Regions from separate parts of the Homo sapiens genome. Here regions 1 and 2 are each linked to region 3. The links are contacts of gene promoters, found by promoter capture Hi-C in blood cells and fetal thymus (Javierre and others, 2016). All regions are on one chromosome and are shown on one strand. The core of a region is centred on a gene start or on the middle of the fragment in contact, and the rest is flanking DNA. Distances in the headings are between cores, read along the strand shown.

Evidence for each region. The method cuts DNA at HindIII sites, captures the fragments that hold promoters and counts their contacts. A CHiCAGO score of 5 or more calls a contact.
Region 1: a contact is called between a fragment that was not itself captured here and the fragment with the promoter of GPR65 in region 3, in 1 of 17 cell types (naive CD8 T cells). The highest score is 5.4, in naive CD8 T cells.
Region 2: a contact is called between a fragment that was not itself captured here and the fragment with the promoter of GPR65 in region 3, in 2 of 17 cell types (total B cells and naive B cells). The highest score is 8.1, in total B cells.

What each region holds. Positions count from the first base shown.
Region 1 is chr14:88,541,137-88,545,523 of GRCh38, forward strand. The region is part of intron 2 of PTPN21 (protein tyrosine phosphatase non-receptor type 21); the gene reads right to left. Among named protein-coding and RNA genes, the nearest start is that of PTPN21, 12 kb to the right of the region's middle. The HindIII fragment of the contact is 518 bases long and covers 1,142-1,659 here.
Region 2 is chr14:88,824,855-88,828,873 of GRCh38, forward strand. All of the region lies in intron 1 of TTC8 (tetratricopeptide repeat domain 8), which reads left to right. Among named protein-coding and RNA genes, the nearest start is that of TTC8, 2.2 kb to the left of the region's middle. The HindIII fragment of the contact is 471 bases long and covers 2,415-2,885 here.
Region 3 is chr14:88,002,490-88,006,836 of GRCh38, forward strand. It overlaps GPR65 (G protein-coupled receptor 65), which reads left to right and starts at 2,646. Exons shown (of 2, transcript NM_003608.4): 1 at 2,646-2,733. RefSeq lists enhancers at 3,061-3,230, 4,031-4,090. The HindIII fragment of the contact is 4,497 bases long and covers 232-4,347 here.

The DNA.
Region 1 (4,387 bases), core at 151-2,650, 540 kb after region 3:
ACTATAGAAAGTGGTACAAACCCTTGATAGGAAGTTATTTCTACTACATGCTACCAATCCTCATGAAGGATTTGTGACATACACAGTTTCTTCTAGTAATGTTAGCATCTTAGGCAAAAACTTAAATTGCCTCTGTATGTTCTGTCAATTCATTAAAAGATAAAGGAAATCTAAGTGACATTTGTTTATGAACAAATTGCTCAGAGAACTGAATAGGAAAATATTCGCTAAATTGGCATACTGTTAAAAGAATGATGAATCCTTGTTAATAGAAAAGAAAATGCCATATTCACATAAAGTGTGTATCTGACAAGAAGAATGATACAGAGGGCTCAACAATTGGCCTGGGAACTTGATTAATGTATAAAGGAAGAATGAATCATCCATTCAATTCCTGAAGATGCATCACATACCTGCTGCCTAGCAGGGAAGACAGACATGGATCTACCATCAGCAGGACAGTGGGGGAATTCCCACTCATGACCTCCCCTCTGTCCCCCCTGAGAGGGGCTTTTTCCTTAATAGTAAGTTGTCCCACTGAGCAATGAATGGCCCTTCCTGAGACCTAAAGATGAAGGCCAAAGAAAAAAAGGGCATCTGTAGTAGAAGGGTCAGCGAGGGGAGGCTCTATATTCAGAGGCAAATTATTATTTTTTAATTATGAAGGTCTTGAATTGTTCACAAATATTCCATCCTTCCAGCATCTTTCACTCTGGGAAGTAGAAGACCAGGGAAGAAAGATCCTGCTCTGTGACAAGGGGAGAAAAAGGGAAAGACTGCCTTAACCAGGAAGCCTCCAGGCCCACAGCCTAGGCCCATGGATGGACTTGGGGGAGAGAGTGGCTATGAACCACCTGAAATTGTATACAAAATTCTGTGTTTGCATCAGATCTCAAAGGGGTCCATGACCGCCACAAATTTAAAGGTCAAAGTTCGAGCAGAAGTCTGATATAAAATCTCAAATCCTGGGTCTTTTGCTTATTAGCTACGTAATCACTCAAACTTTTCTTAAGTTTAGTTTCCTAATTTGAAAATGGAAAAGATAATACAACGCCTAACTCATTGTGAAGATTAAATGAGGTAAATAAAGCTTCCAGCACAATAACGCTCATTTACCCAAATGGAGACAGCAGAAAGTCAAAGCTTCTAGAGATATTAGAAGGAATGGAATCTGATTCTATACACCAAAGACAGTGACAGCACTTAGAGCCCCCAAAACACCATCAGTTCCCTCATGTCCACCATTTTGTAATTCACCTTACAAATCTCGAATGAGTAAATTCATGCTTAATTCCACATGGTCCTGAGACTACACTACTGTGACAGACTGATGGTAAGAAAATAAGGACATCTGGTATCTCAAGGGAAAAATCCAATACTGAAAGGAAAACATCTTAGGTTATTAGCCTTTAAGTTTATTAGGCACTAAGTCTAGGTTGAATAATACTCTATTCTTCAAATAAACAGGTTTCCAAATTCTGCAATAACTTGTGATTGTAGAATAGACTTTAAAATGCATATCCTCCATGTTTGTATGTGTAATTTCCATACTTATTTATATGGCTAATTCTTAATTACCTAGACCAAAGAAGAAAAGTAACAAAACCTAAACATCAAGAAAAATCCCTGATCATTTATAATTGGTGTTAGACTTGGGAAAGCTTTCTCTATCTAGGTGAGAGGCCAACCAACCTAACATTATATTTGCTTCAGACGGTCCAATAGCTCTAACTGAAAATATTCACAGATTCTTGTCTCTACCTCGGTCTTACTTGTTTTATAACGTACATACCTAAATGAATAACTACTTGGCCCAAAAGGTAAAAAAGTTTCTGGGTACTAGACTTTTACTTTACATATATATCAGCTATTTTTAGAGTCCAAATGAAAACAGCTAGTACACAAGGAAATAAGCATGAAATTCTTGATGTCTACTCAGATAACAGTCAAGATAAGGTCAGTGGATATTTGGAATACCTAAGACACTAATTTAAAATAAAACACTTTGATGGCCAAGAACACTTTCTAAAGTTGTGCTTGAGGGTTATGGTTTGCGTTATATGCTTGATTCCTCTCTATTCTAACAAATCCCCTAGCGAAAAAATATCCCCATCTGCCATAAGGTGCTATGAGAAGTATCTGTTCAAAGTCCAGTGAGGAAGCTGACACTCCCTTGACACAGCAATCTTACATCAGGGAGCCACTACAACTAGATCACTTTCTAAGTGTTTCAGAAGAAGCCCCAAAGTGAAAAAGAAGAGTCTAAAGAAAATGGTGCTTTTCTATCTGTATACAAAACTTTGGAAATGTTTACCTCTCTCCAGGAAATAAAATCAGAGCAAACAAAGGCTGACTTAATTGTACTGCTGTCCATGTTTATCAATCTAAATTCAAAACTAAACTCTTAATTTTTAAACTAAGTAAACATTTATTCAGCAACAACATAGGTGCAAGGTGCCATCCCAGACCCTGGCAATGCTCCAGTCAACAAGAGTCCTACTTTGATGGAGCTTACAGTCTATGGAACAAAAACTTGACATTGTGTGTAACGCACTAAACACACAATTTAAAAAACATTTCGTAAAGATCTATGATAAACCAAAGCCTATAATTAAGAAATGAGAGGCCACTATATATATTTTGCTAGACTTTCATCTTCAACAAAATACCCTGGAGGTAATTTTTAGCAGTGGCTCAGTATTTAACTCAACTTCAAAACAATAGTTATGTATGAAGGCCATATATGGGAACAACAATAAAGACGCCCCAGCATGCACACACCCCCCTCAGAAACAGCTGAAAGAAAACTGTCCTCTAAGTTATAAAACTAACACAATATACCACAGCAAACATGAAAAAAATAACCTTGAAGAGACTTCCATGGTTTCACAACTTCCCCATATCCTGAGGATTAAAAAACTTTTTAGGCCAGGTGCGGTGGCTCCTGCCTGCAATCCCAGCACTTTGGGAGGCCAAGGTGGGTGGATCACCTGAGGTCAGGAGTTCAAGACCAGCTTGGCCAACATAGTGAAACCCAGTCTCTACTAAAAATACAAAAATTAGCCAGGAGTGGTGGCAGGTGCCTGTAATCCCAGCTACTTGGGAGGCTGAGGTGAGAGAATCGCTTGAACCCGGGAGGCGGAAGTTGCTGTGAGCCGAGATCGCGCCATTTGCACTCCAGCCTGGGCAACAGAGCAAGACTCCATCTCACCAAAAAAAAAGAAAAGAAAAGAATTCCTATGAAGAGAATTTGGTCAGTTACTACAACAGGGGATAGGAGTCACTAATAACAATAACATAACATCAACAAAAATGGTAATAAAGAAGAACACTTATTGAGAGTTTCCCAAATACCAGGTCCTTTGCTAAATGTTTTACATTTAACACCGAATCCTCATAACCACTATCAAGTAGGTACTATTATTATCCCCAACTTACAAATGAAAAATCAATGAACTTGGGAAATTAAGTGATTTAATAATTACTTAAATGACAGCACTTGGATGCAACCTAGGTGTTTCTGAATACTGCAGACTGTCTTAACCACTTTACTAAGCAGCCATCTCAAGAGGCAGACAGGCACTGAAGCACCACTGAAGCACCGCGCAGAGGAAAAGGTGCCCTGACTCAAAGGAATTTGTCTGGTCCTGGAGGCAGCAATTCTCTGCTTATAAAAATATGTACTTTTTCTTTTCTTTTCTTTTTTTTTGAGACAGAGTCTCACTCTGTCGCCCAGGCTGGAGTACAGTGGCGCAGTCTCGGCTCATTGCAACCTCTGTCTCTCGGATTCAAGTGATTCTCCTGTCTCAGCCTCCCAAGTAGTTGGGACTACAGGCATACACCATCACGCATGGGTAATTTTTTTGTATTTTTAGTAGAGATGGGGTTTCACCATGTTGGCCAGGCCAGGCTGGTCTTGAACTCCTGACCTCAGGTGATCTGCCCACCTCGGCCTCCCAAAGTGCTGGGATTACACGCGTGAGCCACCGCGCCTGGCCGACTTATGAAAATATCTACTTTTTCAAGGTAACATTCTTCTGATTCCATGTTCACCAAGAAACTTCTGGTTTGTTCTGGTTCCCATGTGCCCTAACTATAGGAAAATCTTGGCCTAGGCAGAGGGCACACATACCTGGGACCCTTGGCAGTTCCTTACTGCTTATAAATTACTAAACTTGGGTCCTGGTTTTACACATCATTTTTAGCGAGCTAGATTAAATCAGGTCTTCCCATGACATGAGATTTTTGAGCCTGACTCTTGCACTCTGGATTGTGCTGATTCCGTCAAGGTGATGCCCCAGGCAGTGCCCATGCCCAGGTGGCCACTTGTGTCACCACCTCCTTCAAGCCTCTACAGCATATGCTTTTAAAATTGGAGAAAATTTTC
Region 2 (4,019 bases), core at 1,400-3,899, 820 kb after region 3:
GACGCTGAGGCTGCGGGGTCTGGGGCATATCCCAGCCCCGGGTTGGGAGGCCGGGGAGGAAGGCCCGAGGCGGGGCTGACCGTTCGGCCCTCGGAGGCGCCCGGAGCGAGACCTTGTGGAGCTGTGACTAGCGGGTCCGCTGTCCGCCACGTCCACGGGGATAGCAAGTTCTGTGCCATGACCGCCCCCTCCTCACAATTTTCAGCCTCCCCTCCCCTATACGTGTCCCAGAATGAGAGCCCTGAACTTTACTTGACGAGGAACTTTGATAATTCGTTTATACTTGCATATTGATGGGCTTTAAGCTCTCAGCGTGTGCGTTGTTAATTTCTAAAAAATATGCATAAACAAAGATCTGTGACTCTCCACCTCCTGTTAACATAGCTGCCTTCTTCCTTTTGGATCGAACATGTGATCCTCCCACCTCATCTTTAGACTGTTGTCCAAGAGTGAAGGAGGCCATGAGTTTAGCTTGAGGCAAATATGCAAATTAGAAGAATGAGAATCTAGGAGGGAGAAAGATACATTCATTATTTAAAAAATTACCTAGGCAAGGGAAGCTCTAATTGTAGGAGGGAGAAATGGGAAAGAAAGGCTCCTTACAAGAAGGAATGATGGCATTGATGAAAAGAGAACTTAAACTAGAGTAATGTGTATAGCGAGTGGAAAAGGTAGTATACAATGTACGTGAGCGGTACAATTCTGGTGGGCAGGTGGCTCCTGGAATAGGCAAAAAAGGAGAAAATGGGAGAACAGAAGTAGCGCTGCGGCAGTTTGTCAGTGCTTTTAGTAAGTGCGGAATATACCTACGTAGTTCTAGTTCCCTAGCTTTTCCTCTAGTGGTGTTGCCTTGGAGATGTTAGAAAAAATGGAAAATTGAAGGGAGTTACAAAAGCGGAGGCCTGAGTGTGAATGCTGTTACTAGGCTCTGCCTTAGCTCCCAGCAAATGGATGATGGATGATAACCTGCTGAGATGAACATTTTGTCTTTCAGATAGTACATCTCTCTTAGAACAGCCTACGTTAGTGGTAATACAAAGCTAGGTTCTGTTGTTAGTTCACATTAATTAATAGGACTATATTTCTGTAGACAAGCATTTTTCCAAGGTTTTTTTAAATTTTTTTTATTTTTTTTTATTTTTTTTTGAGACGGAGTCTCGCTCTGTCGCCCAGGCTGGAGTGCAGTGGCACGGCGCGATCTCGGCTGTCTGCAACCTCCGCCTCCCAGGTTCAAGCGATTCTCCTGCCTCAGACTACCGAGTAGCTGGGACTACAGTTACGTGCCACCAAGCCTGGCTAATTTTTTTGTATTTTTAGTAGAGACGGGATTTCACCGTGTTAGCCAGGGTGGTCTCGAACTCCTGACCTCGTGATCCGTCTGCCTCGGCCTCCCAAAGTGTTGGGATTACAGGCATGAGCCACCGCGCCCAGCCCCCAAATGTGTTTTTGGCATAGTAATCTTATAGATATTGCTTAAAAAAATACACAATCAAATATGTTTGGGACTTGTGACAAAATATTGACCCTTTACGTTGGTACAACAGAAGCTTGTTAAGAACCTTTGATGTGGCCGGGCACGGTGGCTTATGCCTGTAAACCCAGCGCTTTGGGAGGCCGAGGCGGGCGGATCACGAGGTCAGGAGATTGAGACCATCCTGGCTAACACGGTGAAACCCCCTCTCTACTAAAAATAGAAAAAATTAGCCGGGCGTGTTGGCGGGCGCCTGTAGTCCCAGTTACTCGGGAGGCCGAGGTAGGAGAATGGCGTGAACCCGGAAGGCGGAGCTTGCAGTGAGCGGAGATCGCACCACTGCACTCCACACTCCACAGCCTGGGCGACAGAGAGACTCTGTCTCAAAAAAAGAACCTTTGATGTGCCAGACATTGTTCTAGGCACAATGGTTTGCAGGAACTTTATGTGCCATTTTAATTTTTCCATTGAGTTACGGTAGTTTTCATTCTGTGTTCCACGAAACAGTAGTCCCAAGAGCTGTTCAGTGAGAACAAGTTCCCTCATTAAGTACATTTGGGAAATGTATGTTCCTTCTTGGAGATTCAGGATGCACCCTAAAGGCTCTGAGTAGTTTTGAAGAAAAGGAAACTAATTTTGCCTATTTTTGATTAATCCAAATAATTAAATAGTTCTGAAACTTATTTGACCACCGGATTCCTTTTTTTTTTTGACCCAGGGAAAGGGTCAGATATCTTCACTGTTATCCTGGGAAGATGTTGGTACATCGGGAAATGTAGGCAAAGCAGCAATATTTTTATTAATAGTTAAGACCCTCTAATCTTGAGTTCATAGTGACATTCAGTATTGCACCTATAAATTGAGATATCAGGACTTGATATATATTCATCTCAATGACCTTTCATTGAGTGCTTACTACAGATTGTGTATCCCTTATCCGAAAAGCTTGTGACCAGACCTGAATAGAAGTTTCAAAAAAAGTTATTGTTTTATTTTTATGAGCAAGGGTTGATATGTTCAGCTCCAATATATATAGAGTAGGTCTAAGAGAATCAGTACCAGATCTGGAGGAAATTTGATATTCTTTTCCTTTCTAATAATTTTTATTTGTTTTATTTGTTTGTTTTGTTTTGTTGAGGTAGTTTATTATGGTTGAACTGTATGTATTGCCAGAATAATGAGTAGCATTTTACCAGGAATAGACGTTTAACTTGATGTCATCTTACCAGAGTTAGGTTTTGTTACTAGGTAGGGCTATTGAAAAGTTTACAGGGCTTACTCATGTTAGTCATTCTTTGACCTAACTTTGAACACTGTGCTGTTATTACTCTATGTTTTTCGTAACACCAGTTTCTGTATTTTGCACCCAGTTGTTATTTCATGTTGGAAATATTTCCCAGAATGATTTTTCCCAAGCTTGAAGAAATCCTGCCTTTTTCTTCATTAAAAAAATTAATATTTATGTTAGAGTGTTGATGCAATTAAAGAAGAGCTTTAGGAAGGAAGCTTAAGGAAGTTCCTTTGATTACAAGCTTGAAAATTATCTTTCCTTAGAACATGACTCCACAATAGCAGGTTTGTGTGGTATCCCAAGCACCTGATGCAGAGTCAGGCACACAGGGGCTTTTGATATGTATTTGCTGAATGAGTGCGTCGATCATGTTCATGTGTGTGTTTTGATGGAGTTGTTCATATTTGTCAGCTTCCTCTCTATGAAGGTCGTCGTAGTTGCTTGATGATCTTTGTCTTCCCCTGCCCCATCCTTAATTCTCAGCACCATATGTTCTTAAATGTACACTTACTTTTTCAAATAAATATAATTTCATTATGGGCATTCTTAATTCTTGTTTTGAGGGTCAGTTTTTAAAAATCAATTTTTAAAATGCTTCCTAGGTTCCTCCAGGAGAGTGTTTCTAATAGTAATGATCATCATTGCTATCTCTTACAGTGCTTTCTTTGTTTCGGTGGAGGAAGTTAAATGATGGAGAGATTCACAATCTATGAAAAGCTAACAGAAATGTGACCAGAGCGTGAGCAGATGGTCCTCTGCTCCGCAGTTAGCTGGTTCACCTTCATGCCCCTTTAGCCTCATGGGCATTTACTGAGGTTTTGACATTTGAGAGTACTTTTCCTCTATAACTATTTGAATTACTGTTCTGTGCCACCAAACTGATTATAGTATGGAGTGAATTTGAAACTCCTGGACACATAGAGGAGCCCAGAAATTAAAATATTTCTTCTTAGTGCCAAATGGATTCATTTTTGCTCTTACGTTTTCCCCTCCCCATTACAAAAGATAGTTTTTGTTTTTAATAATGTCATTTTTCACTTTTGGTTTTGCTTATTTTTCTCCCAGATGAGAAAAACCTCTCAAAAATGATTTGTTATTTGTTAATCTTTTTATAAGCTGGTCCAGGGAGCTTCAAAAAGATAACATTTTGGTCCTGATACATTAGCTTATTGAGATGAAGGCCACCTCTAAGACTATTTATATGCATTTATTTCGCCTTTAAGGGATACTATTTTGGTGTAGAATCATCAAAAGTCT
Region 3 (4,347 bases), core at 1,396-3,895:
TTGGAAATGAGGCACAGGTTCACTCTCCTCCCCAGATCACACAACTCATCTAGGGTGTTTGTCACCCACCCCTACCTCAGGGCTTGCTTGGAAGTGAGTACAGCAATCAGGATGCAGGGCCCCTTTCTCAAGCACTGACCACATCTAACTCTTGAACATACTTCCTCTCTCACAACGTTAAACCCAACCCCCGCCAAGCAGGACAATCTTTTTCAGTTTTGGGGGCTGGGAAGCTTTACTTTATTTCAGCACATATTCTCCCAAGCATAGTGTCTGTGCCTCAGTCTTTTCCAAGGCCTTGAATTTTTGAAAGTCAAAACTCACATTGTCTTCTTTTTTTCCCCCCCGCTTGTGCCAGAAATTTCCTTGAGGCAATAAATGCAAAATGGCTCACTGATTGTGTAAGGGTAGGGCTAGAGTGAAAAGAAATGTGGCTGGGAAAATATAGCATTATTTCAAAATCTTACCCTGCCATATTTAGTTGCCGCTTTAGCTAGTGAAATTACACCTAGCAGATAGTGTGGCCTCACAAAGGACCCCTTCATCAGTAGAACACACTCTTGCACTGTCTGCCCAATGGAGAAGTTGGAACCAGGTAGATCCACAATCTCCTCCCCATTACCCCATGAGTAGCCCAACTGGCCAGTGTTGGGTCCCCAGATTGTGACCACAGAAAACCAAATAATTGACTGGTCAGAAATGCCAACCCCGTTAAGGCAGTGTTCTGAATAACTACTAATTGTCTTTATCTCATTGTTATGTTGTTAAAATGTCACAGTGACTCAATGATTTAAAATTTCTAACCGTTCATTATAAAAGATAGCCCTATAGTTGAAAATACAGTATTGCCATATTTTCCATATTAAGAAGCAAATTTCTTAAAAGCTGGTAAATTTCTTATTGTGTAGAGTTGGCAAGGTTTTAGCATAGGTCAGCTCCAGCTTTTTCTCCTCTTTAATCAGAAGTGAAAGTTTGTGTTTCTTATGTTTCTTAATGATAATCTTTTTCTTTTGAAAAGCAAAATACATGAATATTAGATATGGACATGAAAATACCCTTTCCCTAAAAGCAGAAGTATAGTCTATTCAGATAAAGTAAGAGATCATCAGAGTAATGAAATACCTACGTAACAATGCACTTGTACCCCGAACTTAAAAAAAGATATATCATGTATAGAAACCACAGATAAGCAGATGTACGAAACCAAGCAAAAATGAGAACTTTGAATTACAGTCACAAGTAAACTGAAATCGTTACTTTTCATTTTTGTAAAACTTCAAGACATTTATTGTTAATTTTTTACTTTATACTTAATTTTTATTATTTCAGTAACAATATATTGATTTATAATTTACTATATGCTAAATTACTTTATAAACTATCCTGTGCTTTATAAATGTAAGGTATTAGTTTTATTATTCTCAAAGAAAGACCTACAACGGAAGTATTGAAAATCTTTACATTCCTGATATACCCTGATCAACTTCAATATGGAAAGCCTTGCTTATATACAGGCTAATCTTTTCTATCTCTGGGTAGGGAGAAAAAAACAACAAAAAAAAAACACCAGCAACAACCCTTAATGTCCTTTAACAAACACAGATTCAAAATGTCCTGATTACATCTTTAAAATTAAGTCAAATGTTTTCATCCCAAATAAATTCTGTTCTTTCAAATAATATTTTCCCTTCATTTCTAATAAAAGTTTATGAGGGCAAGATTCAAAAGTGATATTTCTGACTTTTTTATATATCAATAGTAAGAAAGTTATAGGAGCTAATTTCACTTCATATTAAACCACTTATAGATTTGGCATTAACTTTAACTTGCTAAAGTACAAGAGTTTTTATAATAACAATGTAAGTCTTAAATAAAATTTTCAAGTTTCATAAAATTATTTGTCTCAGCTAGTTAATTCAACTGGTTTTTAGCCATCTCTGTTTCCAAGAGGAGAGAATCAAAGGAGAAAATAGTTCTACAATCAAATACTATATATCTAATCCCATTAGTCTCTCAAAAAAAAAAAGAAAAGAAAGACGGTATGAGGTTGGCTACCTTAACCCCTGCCTTAAGCAGCACAATATCCATCATTAAACCCCTCAGCCTCAATTCTCCCTTTTCTGTTTTTGTCCCAGGAACTTTATCACCCTGAATCTACCTACAATATCCTCCCCTATCTCACACATCCAAATGGTTCATTCTATTTTATCTGTACCCCTCTTGAAGTACTTCTTCATTTTGCCATTGCATTACAATCATTATTAAACATGTCTTTCTCCTTTACTAGGTAAAAAAAGCTGCTTTTGGTTGATAGCCAGTTCGTATACATCTCCCCGCACACTGCTGGCATGATGAGTGAATGAATGAATGAATGAATGAATGAACAAAGAAATAAATAAAATATTTAACATATATTCCATTAAGTAAAGGGCATATAATATAATATCAGTACATACTTGTAATTAAGATGCAATGAGACAAGTGAGTTATAAAAATTACAGTACAGTAAACAATAAATAAAAACATCTTTAAAAGTATTTAAGAGACTTTTTTTGTTCAAACTTGGATAACGCACACCCTTCTCATTGAGATGCTGCTTCCTCATTGGTTTGTGCTGAAATATGAGTGCAATTTCCTGTCCCCTCAGCAGTGTTGGTTTCTCTTCTTGACTTGATGCAGGCACAGATTTATCAAGCTCCTCAGTCAACAAACACATCACCGGAAGAAATATGGGTAAGTATAAGATTAAAAAATAAAATAATATTTTAAAGTAGATAACATGCTTTGGCATAATTGTCAGTGATGTTCGCAACATTCTTCCTGGTTTAGGCTGTATAAATGTGGTAATGCAAAGCATGATAAGAGAGAAAGAAATGAGGAAGACACATGGTTTCCTCTACTTTGAGCAGTGGTAAAGGGCCAAACTTTAAATTTAGAACTAATTAGGCAAAACCATAGATATAGAAAAAGGGGGTTGTTCATACTTTATTTTCTTTTCAGGAAACAGTGCTTTGGCAAACTTCATTCAGTATTAGGAAGAAGCCTACCAGCCCCTGGCTTTAGAGCTATCTGGCACCAATCCCTCATCTGTACAATGGTCCAGTAAATACTTTTTATATCCATCAGAAAAAAATGTGATATTAGGAAAGAATATTTCCAGTATTAATAAATGTCAAGTAATAATTATTAGTTAATAAGTGACTACCACAGTGCCTGAAATATATAGTAGAGTCTTAATAAGTAACTATTAAACTGATAGATGAAAGCAAGCATTTTCTATAACACTGTAGGAAAATATTGTACTTTTGGTCATCGTCATCAATGATTTGTACTATTTTTAGATCTGTTCAAGAATAGATATACTTTAATATACTGTAGATTGTCTTTTTTGACATCTGGTAAAAATTAAAAAATTAAAAACTCACCAAAATTTCTCAGTGCTTGTTCTAAAAACAATTTTCTCAAAATTTGATTAAAGGAGGCAAAATAATATCTGAAAAGATATGTGAATACTGTAATAGGAATTATATACAGTATTCCACTAAAATCTCAGATCCACCCAAATTAAATGAACAACTATTATCTGCAGAGCCTAGTATTATACGTGAAGTGTTACCATATAAATTACACTCTGAGCACCTCCAGCTTTTCTGCTATGCTGTGGCTAGATGACTAAAGATGATTTCTTTTCAGAAAATGTAGGGGACAGCACAAAGATTGGTGCAGACTACCAATGTCATTAAAACAATATTACCAGCTAACGTACAGTGAATGCCTCCCATGTGCTAGGAACTTTGCTTCATATGTCGTTTCATTTAACCCTCACAACAATCTTAGAAACTGGGTACTAACTTACACATGTGAAAACTGGAACTTAGAGAGGTGAAGAAACACCAATGGGCCCAGAGTGCTGTTGAGAGGCATTCGAATTGTCTCCAGAGCCCACGCTCTTAACCACAAGCCTGTACTGCCTCTGCGTCACTACAAAGAAGAGGGCCTCTGCTTCATCAACCCATCCTGTCTTGTGGTTAAGTCAAGGCAGGAAATGCTTTTACAGCTAGAGAAATGTATTCCATTGAAAACTTTATAAACCTTTCTAAAAATCATTTTTTCATTTAATCTGTCATACCATTTTTAAAGAAAATGATGACTATCTATTGAGTAACACGGACAAAGGAGGAAGAGGCACATGCTGCCCATTACCCGACTTTCTCGGTCCTGGTCTTAAGGGGAGGATGTTTTCATGGTTCAGGTGTTCTTCCCAAGACACATGAGCCTGGTGTTGGACGTGTTGTGTGTGCATCAGAGTCCCATCCGCGGGGGCTGATTCAATCTTCCTGCATCGCA